Regions from separate parts of the Homo sapiens genome. Here all the other regions are linked to region 1. The links are contacts of gene promoters, found by promoter capture Hi-C in blood cells and fetal thymus (Javierre and others, 2016). All regions are on one chromosome and are shown on one strand. Each heading gives the region's core, a stretch centred on a gene start or on the middle of the fragment in contact. The rest is flanking DNA. Distances are from core to core; before and after follow the strand shown.

The links. The method cuts DNA at HindIII sites, captures the fragments that hold promoters and counts their contacts. A CHiCAGO score of 5 or more calls a contact.
Region 2: a fragment that was not itself captured here is called in contact with the fragment with the promoter of FAM131B in region 1 in 1 of 17 cell types (neutrophils); the score reaches 5.1 in neutrophils.
Region 3: a fragment that was not itself captured here is called in contact with the fragment with the promoter of FAM131B in region 1 in 1 of 17 cell types (M0 macrophages); the score reaches 5.1 in M0 macrophages.

What each region holds. Positions count from the first base shown.
Region 1 is chr7:143,359,955-143,364,413 of GRCh38, reverse strand. FAM131B (family with sequence similarity 131 member B) reads left to right here and starts at 1,701. Exons shown (of 7, transcript NM_001031690.3): 1 at 1,701-1,838; 2 at 4,265-4,374. The coding sequence starts at 1,811. It overlaps FAM131B-AS1 (FAM131B antisense RNA 1), which reads right to left and starts at 2,708. Exons shown (of 3, transcript NR_183342.1): 1 at 2,357-2,708; 2 at 1,157-1,224; 3 at 149-513. The HindIII fragment of the contact is 5,612 bases long and covers 1-4,459 here.
Region 2 is chr7:143,433,733-143,438,074 of GRCh38, reverse strand. The region is part of intron 2 of EPHA1-AS1 (EPHA1 antisense RNA 1); the gene reads right to left. It also overlaps the pseudogene TAS2R62P. Among named protein-coding and RNA genes, the nearest start is that of TAS2R60, 7.5 kb to the left of the region's middle. The HindIII fragment of the contact is 6,221 bases long and covers 1-4,342 here.
Region 3 is chr7:143,452,836-143,457,436 of GRCh38, reverse strand. All of the region lies in intron 2 of EPHA1-AS1 (EPHA1 antisense RNA 1), which reads right to left. Among named protein-coding and RNA genes, the nearest start is that of TAS2R60, 12 kb to the right of the region's middle. The HindIII fragment of the contact is 957 bases long and covers 1,712-2,668 here.

The DNA.
Region 1 (4,459 bases), core at 452-2,951:
AATGGCCACGTGGTCTGTTCCTCCTTACCTGGCCAGTCCCCTGTCAGCGTTTTCTCTGCTCAAACAATAGGGGTGTGTGGGCATTGCTAGAATAATGGAAGCTGTTTGTTCTTTTTTTTTTTTTTAATCATCTCTCCATCTTCTTTCCTTTGCGACTGGACAGTATATTCCATGAAAGCAGAAACTATTTGATACTTCTTTTATATAACCAATAATAGTAGATATGAAAAAAGAAAATGCTTTCTAATTCTCTCCACTATTGAAATAGGGTATCAGACCCTGCCACGAACTACACTAAACGATTAAAATCTAAGCAGACCTGCAACTGATTATTATCTCATTCCTTCCCGCGGTTTTATAGATGTAGATTTGGCTTATTTCTTCATGCACATACACCGAAGATGGATTCTGTCACCATAATCTCATCTCCTCAATCTGCAATTCAGTTGTTAGTGTCTTCTTCTTGCACATCTTCATCTGCCACCCCATGGGATGTAGCTCTCCATTCATAATCTAAAGGTTAGAAAGTTGCATCCATAAGACTTAGCCTCCCTGTTAGGAGCCCACACCAGGGACCCCTGGCCCATTGCCTTCTCTCTCTGCAACCTCGGAGAGACCTAAAAGTGGGCGAGGTGCAGTCAGAGCCTGGATGGGCACTTGCTTCTGTGAATGCCCACCTGCCCACTCTCTCACACTTTGGGCTTTCTGGGTACACCTTAGACAAAAGGGTCTCCTTGCCCTTTCTCATGCATCTTTTCTGGACTCCACTTCTTACCTGCTGTAACCACAGTGCTCATTTAACCCTTGCAACTTAGACCTTCATCTCCTCCCCATGGGGCTTGAGGTATCTACCTGGCCCAGTCCCACTAGCCAGAGGCCAATCTTTCTCTCTCTTTGCTGCTTCGGGACCGCCTTGCTTTCATTTGTCCGAGAAGATCACGTCTCAGAAAAGTTAAACTGGATTCAAGACGATGTCTCCTAGCCAGCCTCGGGTCCTGACATTGTTGTTAGTCTACTGCGAATGAACTGTCCTCCTCATATTCTCCAATCCCCAACCAGGCCTGGAGGTCAACTATCTGCACATCCCCACACCCACCCCTGAATGTCCAGCGAGCACAGAGAAGTGGACTACACGATTCACTTGCAAAGACTTCACCTTCTGTTTGGATGGACAAAATAGCGCACTCGAAACAACAGAGCCCAAAGCTGTGTCCAATCACGTTCCTGTGTGTGTCCCAGATGCGGCCCCAGGAGGAAAACAAGTGTTTGCGGAATTTGGTGGCCAAAGGCCCTTGGGCCTGGCTTTATTCTCACCACCACCCCACTTTCTCTCAGGGCATCCCCTGACCCCGGCCCGCAAAATCCATCAACCAGAACCTCGGGGTAGGCCCTGGGTTCGTGCCTCGGCTCCTGAAACCCAAGCCGGGGTTCTCCAGGAGAGAGCCCCGGGAGCGGGGCTTGGCACGGGCGGGAGGAGGGGGGCGGCGACGGCGGCCCCAGATCCCCGAGGGAGCGCCCCGGCACGGCCGGAGCAGGGGCGGGGAGGCGCGGGGCGCAGCCAATCCCCGGGCCGCCCCCTCCCCGGCCGCGGCGAGCCGAGCCGGGGCGGGGGAGCCAGGCGGCGGCGGCGGCGGCGGCGGCGGCGGCGACGGAGCTGCCGTGGGGAGGGATGGAGAGGGGAGGGGGGAGCGGAGCCGAGCGGAGACAGCCGCGGCGCTGCAGAGCGGCTGGGGCGGCGGCGCGGCTCCCGGTGCTCCCCCCGGCGCGCGCCCCGAGTCGGTGAGGGCCCGGCTCTGCGGCCCCCGGAGCCATGGGCTGCATCGGCTCCCGGACTGTGGGTGGGTACCGCGGCCGGGCGGGGGCAGGGCTGGGCCCCCCGGGCCGCCCTCCGACCCCCTCCCCCATCCCTCTCCTCGCGCCTCCGGGCGCCCCGCTCCGCACCCGCCTTGCCCTGCTAGCTCCTTCACTTTCCTTCCGTCCGCCCGCGGTCCCTCTGTCCCTCCTTCCTGCCCGCTCTCGTCTTGCGCCTCCGGGGCTGCCATCCCGCTCGGCTCGCTTCCTTCTCCCCGTCGCCCTCCCGCAGGCGCGGTCCTCTCCATCCTCTCCATCGCCCTCCTCTCCTCTGCCTCTCGGCCCGACGCTCGGTCCCCTCATCCCTGCCCCTCCAGGCCATCCGCCTCTGCTCCGCCGTCCCCAGCGCCTCCTCGCATCCCCCACTCCGGAGCAGCCCCCCGCGAAGGACCCTCGGCCTCCGCGCCAGCCCCGAGTTTCTTTCGCACGCCCCCCACGCCACCCCCCGCCGCCGCCTCCATCTGGCTCGGGTGCTTTGCCCCATCTCTCTCTCCCTCTCCGTTGCCTTTTACTGTCGTTCCTGCCTCCTCCGATTCGCTTTGTTCACGTGCGTTTTCCCTCTGGGGCGGGGGCGGGATGAGCCCGGGTTCCACGCCCGGAGGGACAGGGCCAGGGCCGGGTGGAGGGAAGGGGCTGGGGGACGCGGGGAGGAGATGGGGGCTTCGAGGCGCTGGGAGGGGTCGGGAGCCCGCGGCCCGGGAGGGTGGGGCCGGCCCTGCCTCGGCGGCCGGGGACCCGCCTGCACCTGTCAGCGGGGGCCGGCGGGGCGGGGCCGGCTCTTTATTTACCTTTGACGCGGGGAGGGAAGAGAGGCGCCTCCTAATCCATCTTCTCCCTCCAGCTTCTGCCTGGCTACCGCCCCTGACCCCCACCCAGGCACCCACTCCACTCTCGCCGCTCAGCGAATTCATCCGGCCCTCTCCCACCCCCTCCCCCATTCTTCCCCTTTCCAACTCCCAATTTCTCCCGCCTACACCTCCCGGTGACCTCAGGCTGAGAGAATAATTCGTATTATTATTACAAACAAACTCACTCTCCAGAAGCCTGATTTCCCTGAGACCCGGTTTATTTCCATGGATACCCCCTCCTCCTCTGCTTTCACCCCTTCTCCGCGGCTCTCTCCCTCCCCGCTGCCCCCCACAGCTCTGACTCAGCTCTCCGTCTCTCACAAAGGCCACCTCCCGCTCCCCTCTCCCCCCGCACCCCGCCCTCCCCTGTCTCCCTTCTCCTCAGGCTCTTCTCCACCTGCCCCATTCCTGCTGTGTCCGGAGGGCCATCTTTCCTCTTTTCCCCCAGTCACCACCCCGCGGAGCCCCAGGGGACAGCAGGCCAACTTTGGAGGGTCCTCCCTCCTCAGTCCGGTTCACCACAAGCCCCTTCCTTTCCCCCAGCCCTGCTGATGTGCTGAATGCCTCCTCGTGCCCAGCCCCATTCAATGCTCCCCTTCCCAAAAATGGAGCCGACCCCTAAACTCACAATTGTAAAACCTCATGAGTATAAAGGGCCTGTACGGTCAGATGGTTCAGGCAGCCATCTGCTGCTTGAATAGTCCCTTTATGAAGACCCAAGCAGTTCTTCCGCAAGACTCTCCGCGGCACCATCCTGCCCTCAGTCCAGGAGTCTCCCTCCACCAGGAGCTCTGGCCCGGCTGTAACAAGGACCCTCCTTCCCCTGAGTCCTGCAGTTTCCCACTCAGCCCTCAGACCCTGTCCACCCCTCCCACCATCTTCTGTCTTCTCTCTGACTTGAATTCCTATTTTCTTAATTCCTATTTTAAAAAGTTCTCTTTTCTCCTCCTGCTCACCAGCTTCCCTCCACTTTAATCCATCACTTCTCTCCCCACAGTCAGGTGAAATGCCTCCAGCTCACCCTTGGTTTCTCTGCTCACTGTTTTTGGGAGGACACACCCAACTCCTTGCTATCCAACTCCTGCCTCGATTCCCAGGAAGTCCTCTTCCAGTCAGTCAGACTCATGGACTCTTAGGAAGGGCCCACCGGGGGAGACACATCCCTTCCACCCTAAGCATAGAGAAAAGTTCCTCATAGAGCAGCTCTGCCCTTATCTGTAGACTTGTAATAGAGAAAAAGCCCAGCTCCCATACAGAAACCCTCCAAGAGTCCTCAGGACGGAATAATTGGTTTTCTGATAAAACCCAACCTCTGACCCCTCCACATAAACAACAACAAATAAGGCCATACATCACTTTTTCTGAGTGCACTATTCTGGGTTGAGCTAAAACTGAATATTTGGGCTCAGCATTACTACTTGTCTCCCCTAGAATTTGGAGAGTGCAGGGATATAAGAGGAAATGGGCAGCTGGGGTAAGGAAGGGGTGTGAAGGGCTGGCCCCAGGGTGTCGCCTCGGCTGCACAGGGAGGTGAGGGCCGGCGGCTAACCTTCTGGCCCCCTCAGGGAATGAGGTGATTGCAGTGGATTGGAAGGGCCTGAAGGATGTCGATCAAATCAACATGGACAGCACCAGCTCACTGCACGGGAGCAGCCTCCATCGGCCATCGACTGAGGTGAGACCTCACTCAGCCACCCCAAGTCTCTGGCTGCCTGCACTTCCTCAATTCCAAGGCAACAACCCAAACACTCCTTCAGACT
Region 2 (4,342 bases), core at 1,602-4,101, 73 kb before region 1:
ACTGGAAAGAGAAAGACAGTACCCAAACCTTATACATTCCTACCAGGATCATTCATCCCAGGACTGGTTACTGACACAGATAACTCAGGAGCAGAACCACCCTATGGCCAGCACCTTCCAAAGCCCTGTGAGCCAGCAGCACGTGGGCACTGGAGCTGAGGCCATGTCTTCAGGCCCTTTTTCAGTTTGGGGCTCCTCAGCACCAGGACGGTAGAGTGCAGACAGATGTTGGCATAGATTAGCACTTACCAGGCCCAGTGCCAGTGATTCTGAAAGTTTATGATTTTCAAAGCAGAAGCAAACAAGGACAGGAAGTACAATGTACAGAAGATGAGGGAAAAGGTGAGTGACTTTAAAGCCATAGTGTAAGCCTGGGTGCTGGGATCACAGGGGCCGGGCCTGAGGTCCCTCATCTACCCCAACTGCCAGCACAGTGAGACTATGAGCAAGACAGTGGACACTAGGAACAGGAGGAACAGAATCGACCACACAAACCCTTCATAAAGGAAAAAGTAGAGCTGAAATGAAGCCTGCACTCTATAAACTAGAGTTTCGTTTCTGTAGGAACTCAGGGAGACCTTCCTCTGACCAAACAGGATGTTCCCAGTGGCTGATGAGATGACTTCCAGGCCACAGATGATCAGGGAGCCCTTGATCAGCTTGGGCACTAACCGAGAGTTCCTCCACTTCAGCCAGGCGAAGGTGGGGTGGGAGAAAGATGAGATCTTCACACAGTAGAAAGCAGCAAGCAAGGCAGTAAACCACAAAGTGAGGGCATTGAAAAGGTCCCAGAAGATGTTCATATAGGGAACTGCACGCGAAAAATCTAAGGAGGCCAGGAGGTTGTTCACCATGGCTACCCCATGCAGGCAGAAACGGGAGGCAGCGAGACAGGCCACAATCATGTCACTTGTGGACAGCATCCGGCACCTTACCCACTCCCTGCCCAGCATTGTGACCAAGAATCCATTCTGCAGCATTGCAGCCAATGACTCCAGGCAAAAGATGGCTATGAAGATCAACGTGGGCAAGGAGGGCATCTTCTCCAGGGAGGTTCTGCTAAGTCTCAGCTCCTACTGCAGAGGGCTGGGACACATCTTCAGGGAAAAACAGCCTCTCTGGCTGAGTCAAGCCACCTTGTTGACACCAGAGACTCAGAAGCCCTTGTCCCTGGATTCATAGAAAATCCCAGCCACCAGCAAACACCCCCAGTCCCCAGAATTTGAAAAGATAATTTCTGCAATCTCCTTTGGCATGCAAATCACTCCCAGCTCAATGACACCATCTCTATTTGCATAACCTGTATTTGCCTGTCCTTTCTCAGAGCCAGATGCAGAGAAACATTAACAGAATAGAGGCTGCTGGGGTGACTGAAAATACCCACATTTTGTACATGATGTCTTAACTGTACTATTTCTTTCCTAACTCTTCTTTAAAAGACATTGTTACTCTTATTGCCCTCCCCAAACCAAAAACCTTCCCTTCACGTCCTGCCTTAATATTTTATTCAGTAGCCTCTATACACTGCCTTAGCTCACTTCCCGAATGGGTGGAACAGAAAAATCATTCGCATGCACAAGGCTTCACATTACCAAGAAAAGGCCCCCTAACCACTGGCCTCTCATGCTGCCTAAAATTTCACTGTCAAGCTCCATATTGGAGTTCATGGAATCTCCAGTTAAAATGTGGATTTCTCTGATATGTTACCATCATCTGTTAACTGTTATCCCCTTGGCTCCAGAGTGCTTGATCAACCAAAAGTAATCAGTTCCTAAGAAGCCTCTGAGGAAATGAGAGAGAGTAGATAAATCATAATGAGAAGACGAGAAAGACAGAGAAGGGAAACTGACCCAGAGGGGACATCACCATAGGAGCTGGGGGAAGCAAGAGTTGGTGGAATGACAAGAGGAGCTCAGGGCAAAGCTGGGCCACAGGGAAGTTTTGCTTTATGTGGAGTGAGCCCTGTCCTATAACAATACTGAATATATAATAGTAAAAACCACCCTGCTGAAACACCTTGTCTTTTTTTTTTTTTTTTTTTTTGACAGTCTCACTCTGTCGCCAGGCTGGAGTGCGGTGATGTGATCTCGGCTCACTGCAACCTCTGCCTCCCGGGTTCAAGCAACTCTCCTGCCTCAGCCTCCCAAGTAGCTGGGACTACAGGCATGTGCCACCATGCCCCGCTAATTTTTGGATTTTTAGTAGAGAAGGGGTTTCATCATGTTGGCCAGGATGATCTTGATCTCTTGACCTTGTGATCTGCCCGCCTTGGCCTCCCAAAGTGCTTGGATTACAGGTGTGAGCCACTGCATAGGGCCCCACCTTGTCATTTTTAAAGTGATTTCACACATCTTACATTTGGCCTTTACCGCCAACCACACAAAATGACACTGGTTCAGATCAGCCAACCCAGGCTCAGGGAGCCATGAGGACAGGTTCAACTGAGGAAAGAATGCCTATGAATGTGGAAAAAGTAAAAACAAAAGGGTTAAGAGGGAAGAGAGAGAAGGAGGGTAGAAGAAAGCAGAGGTGTGGATAGAAAAACAGGGAAGGGAATCCCCTGGCAAATGTCTCAGATCTTGGAGTCAGGGCTCTCCACCAAGATGAGTCACAGAAAATAGCCTTGCCTACTTCCCATGGTCTCACTCAAGATTCTACAGGTGAGAGAGGCCTGTGTGTGAAAGATTAAAGAGAAATAAAAACAAGGACAAACACTTGTGGTGGCGACTTCAAGAAAAAGAGGTTCAGCTCTCGAATATAGCAATTGCTTGAAGAGCTGCTTGTTTGTTTGTTTGTTTGTTTGTTTTGAGACGGAGTCTCGCTCTGTCGCCCAGGCTGGAGTGCAGTGGTTTGATCTTGGCTCACTGCAAGCTCCACCTCCCGGGTTCACGCCATTCTCCTGCCTCAGCCTCCGGAGTAGCTGGGACTACAGGCGCCCGCCACCACGCCCGGCTAATTGAAGAGCTGCTAGTTTTTATTGAACTCTCAAAAGATTGTTAGAGAGCGGATAATTCAACCTGATCAACTGTTTTGTAACACAGCTTCAGCGTCTTTCTTTAATTCTTTGCATGTCTTCCTCTGGCTTCTTGAAGACAACAGCAATGAGTGGCTTCTGCATGCTCCACAGCATTTTGGCTCGTCTCAAAATCCTTTGGCCGGAGCCCAGATTCATGATGTCATCAAGAAGCGAGCTGAGGCCATGGTACACACGCCCTGTTGCGGTCACGTGTAACCAAGTAGACATCTAATGTTTGCGGGCAAACTTCATGTTCTCTGCAGAGGTGCCAAAGCGTGCACTTTGCCAGAACAAGTCTTCCCCAGGACTTTTCCTTTCTACAGTTGATAGCTCTAGAAAGTAAACATTTTCTCCTGTTTCAATACTCTTCTATAAGAAGGCTGAAAGAGTACCTTTCCCGCAGGCACCTGTTTATCCATCTCTCAGTGCTTCACTAGATATATCTTATGGGGGTCCCATGTCCCATTCATAGTCTGCCACCAAAAGATACCATAAGCAAGATGATGTTTTAGGTTTTTTCTGTTTTTCAAGAGTCCTTCGAATGTGAAATAGCAATCAAAATACAAGGTGTTTCTCACAAAAGTTTGGGTCACATTTCTCTTTTTTAAAGGTGTCTCATTCCTGCAGCTGAAGCTAACGAATTATTTTCTGCAGCATGACTGGAGATAGTTTTTTAGGATGAAGTCTGAGTCTTCTGTGAAATGGTAGTAATGGTAAACAGGTAACAGCAGAAGACTGGATTAAAATGGAAGATTCTGCAAAGAGCTACTGGCACTTCCCTCACGTTAGTCCTCTACACCAGTAAAGTGCTTTTTGGTTTCTGTTGATTCGTTTGTTTTTTGTTTTTATTTTCTTTTTCTTATCACATTCAAGAATACATTCTTGAATTCTTAGAGAATGAATTCTTGGTTCATCTTAGAGACATACAAAAATACATTTCATTTGACAGGTTTCTCAATCTTGGTGCCCATTCCCAACTGAACCTTTGAGTGACGTGCATTGCATAAATACTTCCACGTATTTCCATGGCTTTATCGGGTAACTGATGGCCCACTCCAGGGAAAGGTGGAGGAAAAAGGAAATAACAATGTTTTTAATGGCTAGACTGCACATAAATGTTAAGCTAAACTATGCACAAATTTAATAATGATTTCCCTGCAAGATAAGCCCTAAATATTTTTTCTCACCCTGAAGACTTCCTCTGACTCTTATATTTAAGTAAGTAATTTAGAATAAACATTGGCTGTAATAGCAATCCGGCATAATAGAGAATTTTAGCTTTCTGAAAGTAAATTTGGGAATTTCTAACATCTTCCATTATCAAAA
Region 3 (4,601 bases), core at 941-3,440, 93 kb before region 1:
CACAAAGTGTTCATGATCATTCATCTTCTGATTCTCAAAAGGATTTGCTCAAAGAATGTTTGCTGAACACAGTATAAGGTCTTAATCACTTAAATACATGCTTTAATTTCAGACACTTCTCTTTGTTTTATAGGGAGACACACGTTGTTCTCTCAATGGACAAGGATCTTCTTCAACCCCTGCATCCCCCACATAGTGGCACAAAGGAAATATTTGTTGAATGAATGAGGTTAGTTGCTTTTCCTTTTTAAAATAATCTTGATGTGTCACTACATATTTTGGTACAGATGCTTTCAATATTTGGTTATTCAAGGAGACTGAGTTGGCAAAACTTTAAATAGATGCTATGATAGAAGCAGTAAAGCTTGCATTTAGCTTGGAAATGTTGAGAAGAAACATGTATACATTTTCATCTTCATGATCCTCCTCACCTAAAGCCGTGGGCTACTGGAATGTCTGCAGAGTATGTTGTACATACAAAGACATTTTCACTCTTACTTGTTGGAACCCCTGAATATATCTGGTCCCATCACCACAGGTTGGTGGTGACATTTTTCAAAACTAAAATTAAAAAATAATGGATCAGTAAAACTTCACCATAAGAATACCTGTAATAAAAATTCCCAAACACAGATAATGGAAAATGTAATGTTATTGACTCGGATAAATATAAGCCATTGGCTTTAACTTGAGAAATACAGCTTTTCCCCCAACTTTCTTACAGATTCCTCAATTATAGTACAGAGGAGTTAAAATTTAAATGCTTCCCAACTCTAAAGTAGCTGGTCCAATGTGGACCAATTTGGATCAGCTACTTTTCTTCTCCATTTGAAACTTTCCAACAATAAAGACAACAGTCTTCTTGTACTTGATCCCTACAGAATTAAACAGATGCTGCTTTTGGTGTGGACCCAAATCATAGCCCCTCAAGGAGTTTGTCAGCAGATTTGGAAGCCACCAACTTTTAAAAGTAAAGTCCTAATCCCTTATTTTATGAAAATTATACTGCCACTGGAGGCAGAAATCTATCTTGTCCTCAAAAACATTGCACTTGGTTGGGCACGGTGGTTCATGCCTATAATCTCAGTACTTTGAGAGATTGAGGCAGGCGCATCACTTCAGACCAGGAGTTTGAGACAGCCTGCGCAACAGGGCAAAACTACATCTCTACAAAAAATGAAAAATAATTAGTAGGGCATGGTGGTATGCGCTTATAGTCTCAGCTATTCAAGGAGGCTGAGGTGGGAGGATCCTTTGAGCCCAGGAGTTTGAAGCTGCAGTAAGCCACGATTGCACCACTATGCTCAGCCTGGGGAACAGAGTGAGAACTTATCTCAAAACCAAACAAACAAACTATTGCAATTTAGTTTTGATGTAAAAGGTATAACAATCTGAGTACATAGGAGCAGTTTCATATTTTAAAAAAATCACCTTGAGCAAAATAGATAATGAAAGTATCATGTAAATAGTGTATTTTAAATAGTTTATTCAACCTCTTTTTAAAAATTGTTTGGCTTACTGAAAGAAAAATAAAAGTTTTCAAAAAGAACTGTCCCCACACACAGTCCCCTACCCCCAACTAGCCTTCGATTTCCATCACTATAGTCCAGAACAAGTATTATTTATAGTTAAAAGATGCATCAGTCAGCTCAGCTAACTAAAGTTCCAAATGCATTCAGCTGCCTACTGCTGAAGCCCAGTTTCGAAAGCTTTTATCTGTCACCAAGGCCAGCCATCCACACCATTGAAACTCAGAATCATTACAAGCCTGTGACAGAGGCCAACCCCATGAGCAGAAGCTCCCTCTCTGCCTCACAATTCTGATTTCACTTCAAAGATCCAGTTTCCCTCACAACCCTCCTCCTATCTGAGGTCTTGTTCTTGTGACTTTTTTAATCTCAAGATTACCCCCATTCACTTGAGTGAATCACAATAGAGTGGCCAGCGATATGGGCCTAAGTATACAAGAGTTCAGAAAAGGAGGCCATGCATGACTTTAAGAAATGTCGAACCTAATAGATTACTATCAAAGATAAACAGAAACCCCAATATCAAGTATTTGAAAAGTACAAAATTTGCAGCAAAATATTACAAATAAGTAATACTAAATAATGGACTGTATCCGATTAGTTTCCATTTTATAATTCTCTCAGTACTAGGGTCAAATATGAACTATTATATTATACTTCATTAGTGGTCACTTCAGCTCTTCACTGCTTCGTACTCCTTTAACTGGTGTATATATGTTGCATGGTAAATTTCTTGAATGTTAAGATCCTACTTTTATAACCCCATTGCACTTAGCAGGGATGTACACCTAGACCTCCATATCAAAGTGATCAATAAATGCTTGTTAAGATGTATATGAACATGGAAGCAATTACTCGTCTCTAACAACAACTGTGAAAAATGTGGAGGCTCAGTGTTGTATCAGTGAACCAGCAAAATCACCAGTTTCTGAATGTGTAAGAGAATATCAATTGATGATCCAGCTTCTAGCAGCCACGCCCATTTCTACAAGCATAGAAATGATGACCTGTTGCATAATAATAGTAGTCTAGTTAATTATAATAAAATAATGTATGCATGTGTTCAGCAAATATTTATTGAGTGCCTACAATTTGCCAGTAAAAACAAAACAGACACAAATCCCTGTCTTCGAGAAGCTTACATTAGAGTGGGGGAAATAAACCATAAAAAATATAAATAAGTAAAAGAGATAGTGGTAATACTAAGGAGAAAAAAACAGGACAGGGAATAGTAGTACAGGGTATTGCAATTTAGATAGAGTAGCAATGACAATTCCTGAAATAAGTGAGGGAGTGAGCCATGCTAATATCTGGGAATAGCATTCCAAGCACAGAGAATGCAAAGACTTTGGACAAATTCAAGGAACATCGAGAAAGCCAAAGGGATGAGCTCAGTGTGAGAGGAGGGTAAAACAGCAACAGATGACTTCAGAAACATGAGATAGGGCACATGGATTATAGAGGGCATTTTAGTTCATTATGAAGACTTAAGCTTTTACTCTAGGATGAAAAGCAAATCCAGAATTATGAAAGAGATGTGACATGATATGATTTATATTTTTCAGGGATCCTGCTGGCTTGTTGTATTGGAAATAGACCAAAGGCAAACAAGAGCAGAAGCTGCAAAACCAGTTAGGAAGCCATTGCAATAATCCAAGCTAGAGTTATAGTGGCTTGCACCAGAGCAGTAGCAATGGAGGTGGTGATAAGCAGTAGAGTTACAGATTCATTTTGAAGGTTGAGTTAACAACCTCAACTCTAACCCTGACTTTTTCAAACCCTTGTGTCAAGGTCTGGCTTTCAAAAGACTGGAGTGAAAGGACAGCTTTCTCCATATGAAACCACAACCCAGAAGCAGGTCATCTACCAATGCTTTAGCTCTAGGTTAAATGGTCTAGCATCAGGGTTGCTGAATGATTCTTCATGGAATGCAAAAGGTTTTGCCCAGAGAAACTAGAAGAACGGAGTGGCAGAAACAGAAAAAATAGTGAGAGAAGCATGTTGGAGTGGGAGGTCAGAGAATATCAGGAGTTCAGTTTTAGATATAAGTTTTAAATCAGACATGTATGTACACATGTAAAGAAGGGATCTACAAGGGTGAATCACAGAGATATAGCCTGAAAATCAGACCACTTAGATTACACTTTTTATTTATTTTTTAATTTAATTTTTAATTTTAATTTTTGTGTGTGTGAGTGGTCTTTTGCTTTGCACGCCTGTTAGCCTCCAGCAGGGGTTCAAGTGAGACTATGTAAAGCTCTGTATGTGTCTCTTATTTTAATTTCAATTTTTATTTTAGATTCAGGGAGTAAATGTGCAGGTTTGTTATGAGGGTATAATGTATGATGCTGAGGTTTGGGCTCCTGTTGATCCTGTCACCCAGAGAGTGAACATAGTACCCAACAGGAAGTTTTTCAGCCCTTGCCCCCACTCCTTCCCTCCTTTTGAAGTCCCTAGTGTCTATTGTTCTCATCTTTATGTCTGAGATCACACTTTTCAAAAGCAGAGTCTGAGATGGAGATTCTTGTGCAAGTTACATTTTGAGTTGTTCCTTTCAGGAAAAAAAAAAAAAAACTATAGGAAAATAAGATACACAGGATAGAAGAAGAGAAGAAACTAAATTTTTTAAGTAGTTTCTAGATCAATATACAGTCACTTTGATCCCATGGGGAGATTTGGAGTGTAGTTTGACCCCAAAGTTTGCCCCATTTGAAGGCAAGGAAGTGGAACTGTTATAAGCCTGCATTACACAGTCATTAGCCAAGAACTGCAGAAAGAGGGGAATGGACAATCAGACTTCTTTGGGTGGAGTGGCTTCCATCAATCAAAGGCAATCCTTGGGAACCATTAGCAGTCATTAGCAGCCAACATCTGGCAGGCGACAATGGGTATATCAACCCTGTAAATTCGGTGGATTCGGTTAGAGGGAGGGTGCACCAAGAGCAGCTGTTGTAATCTACCCCTTGTACCACTCAGTTTTAGCATACACCAGTTAACGTAATGTTAACTAACCTAACCTGCTCTCACATTAGGTTCACTCCACCTGGTCAAAGCTTCTCCAGGATTCTGGCC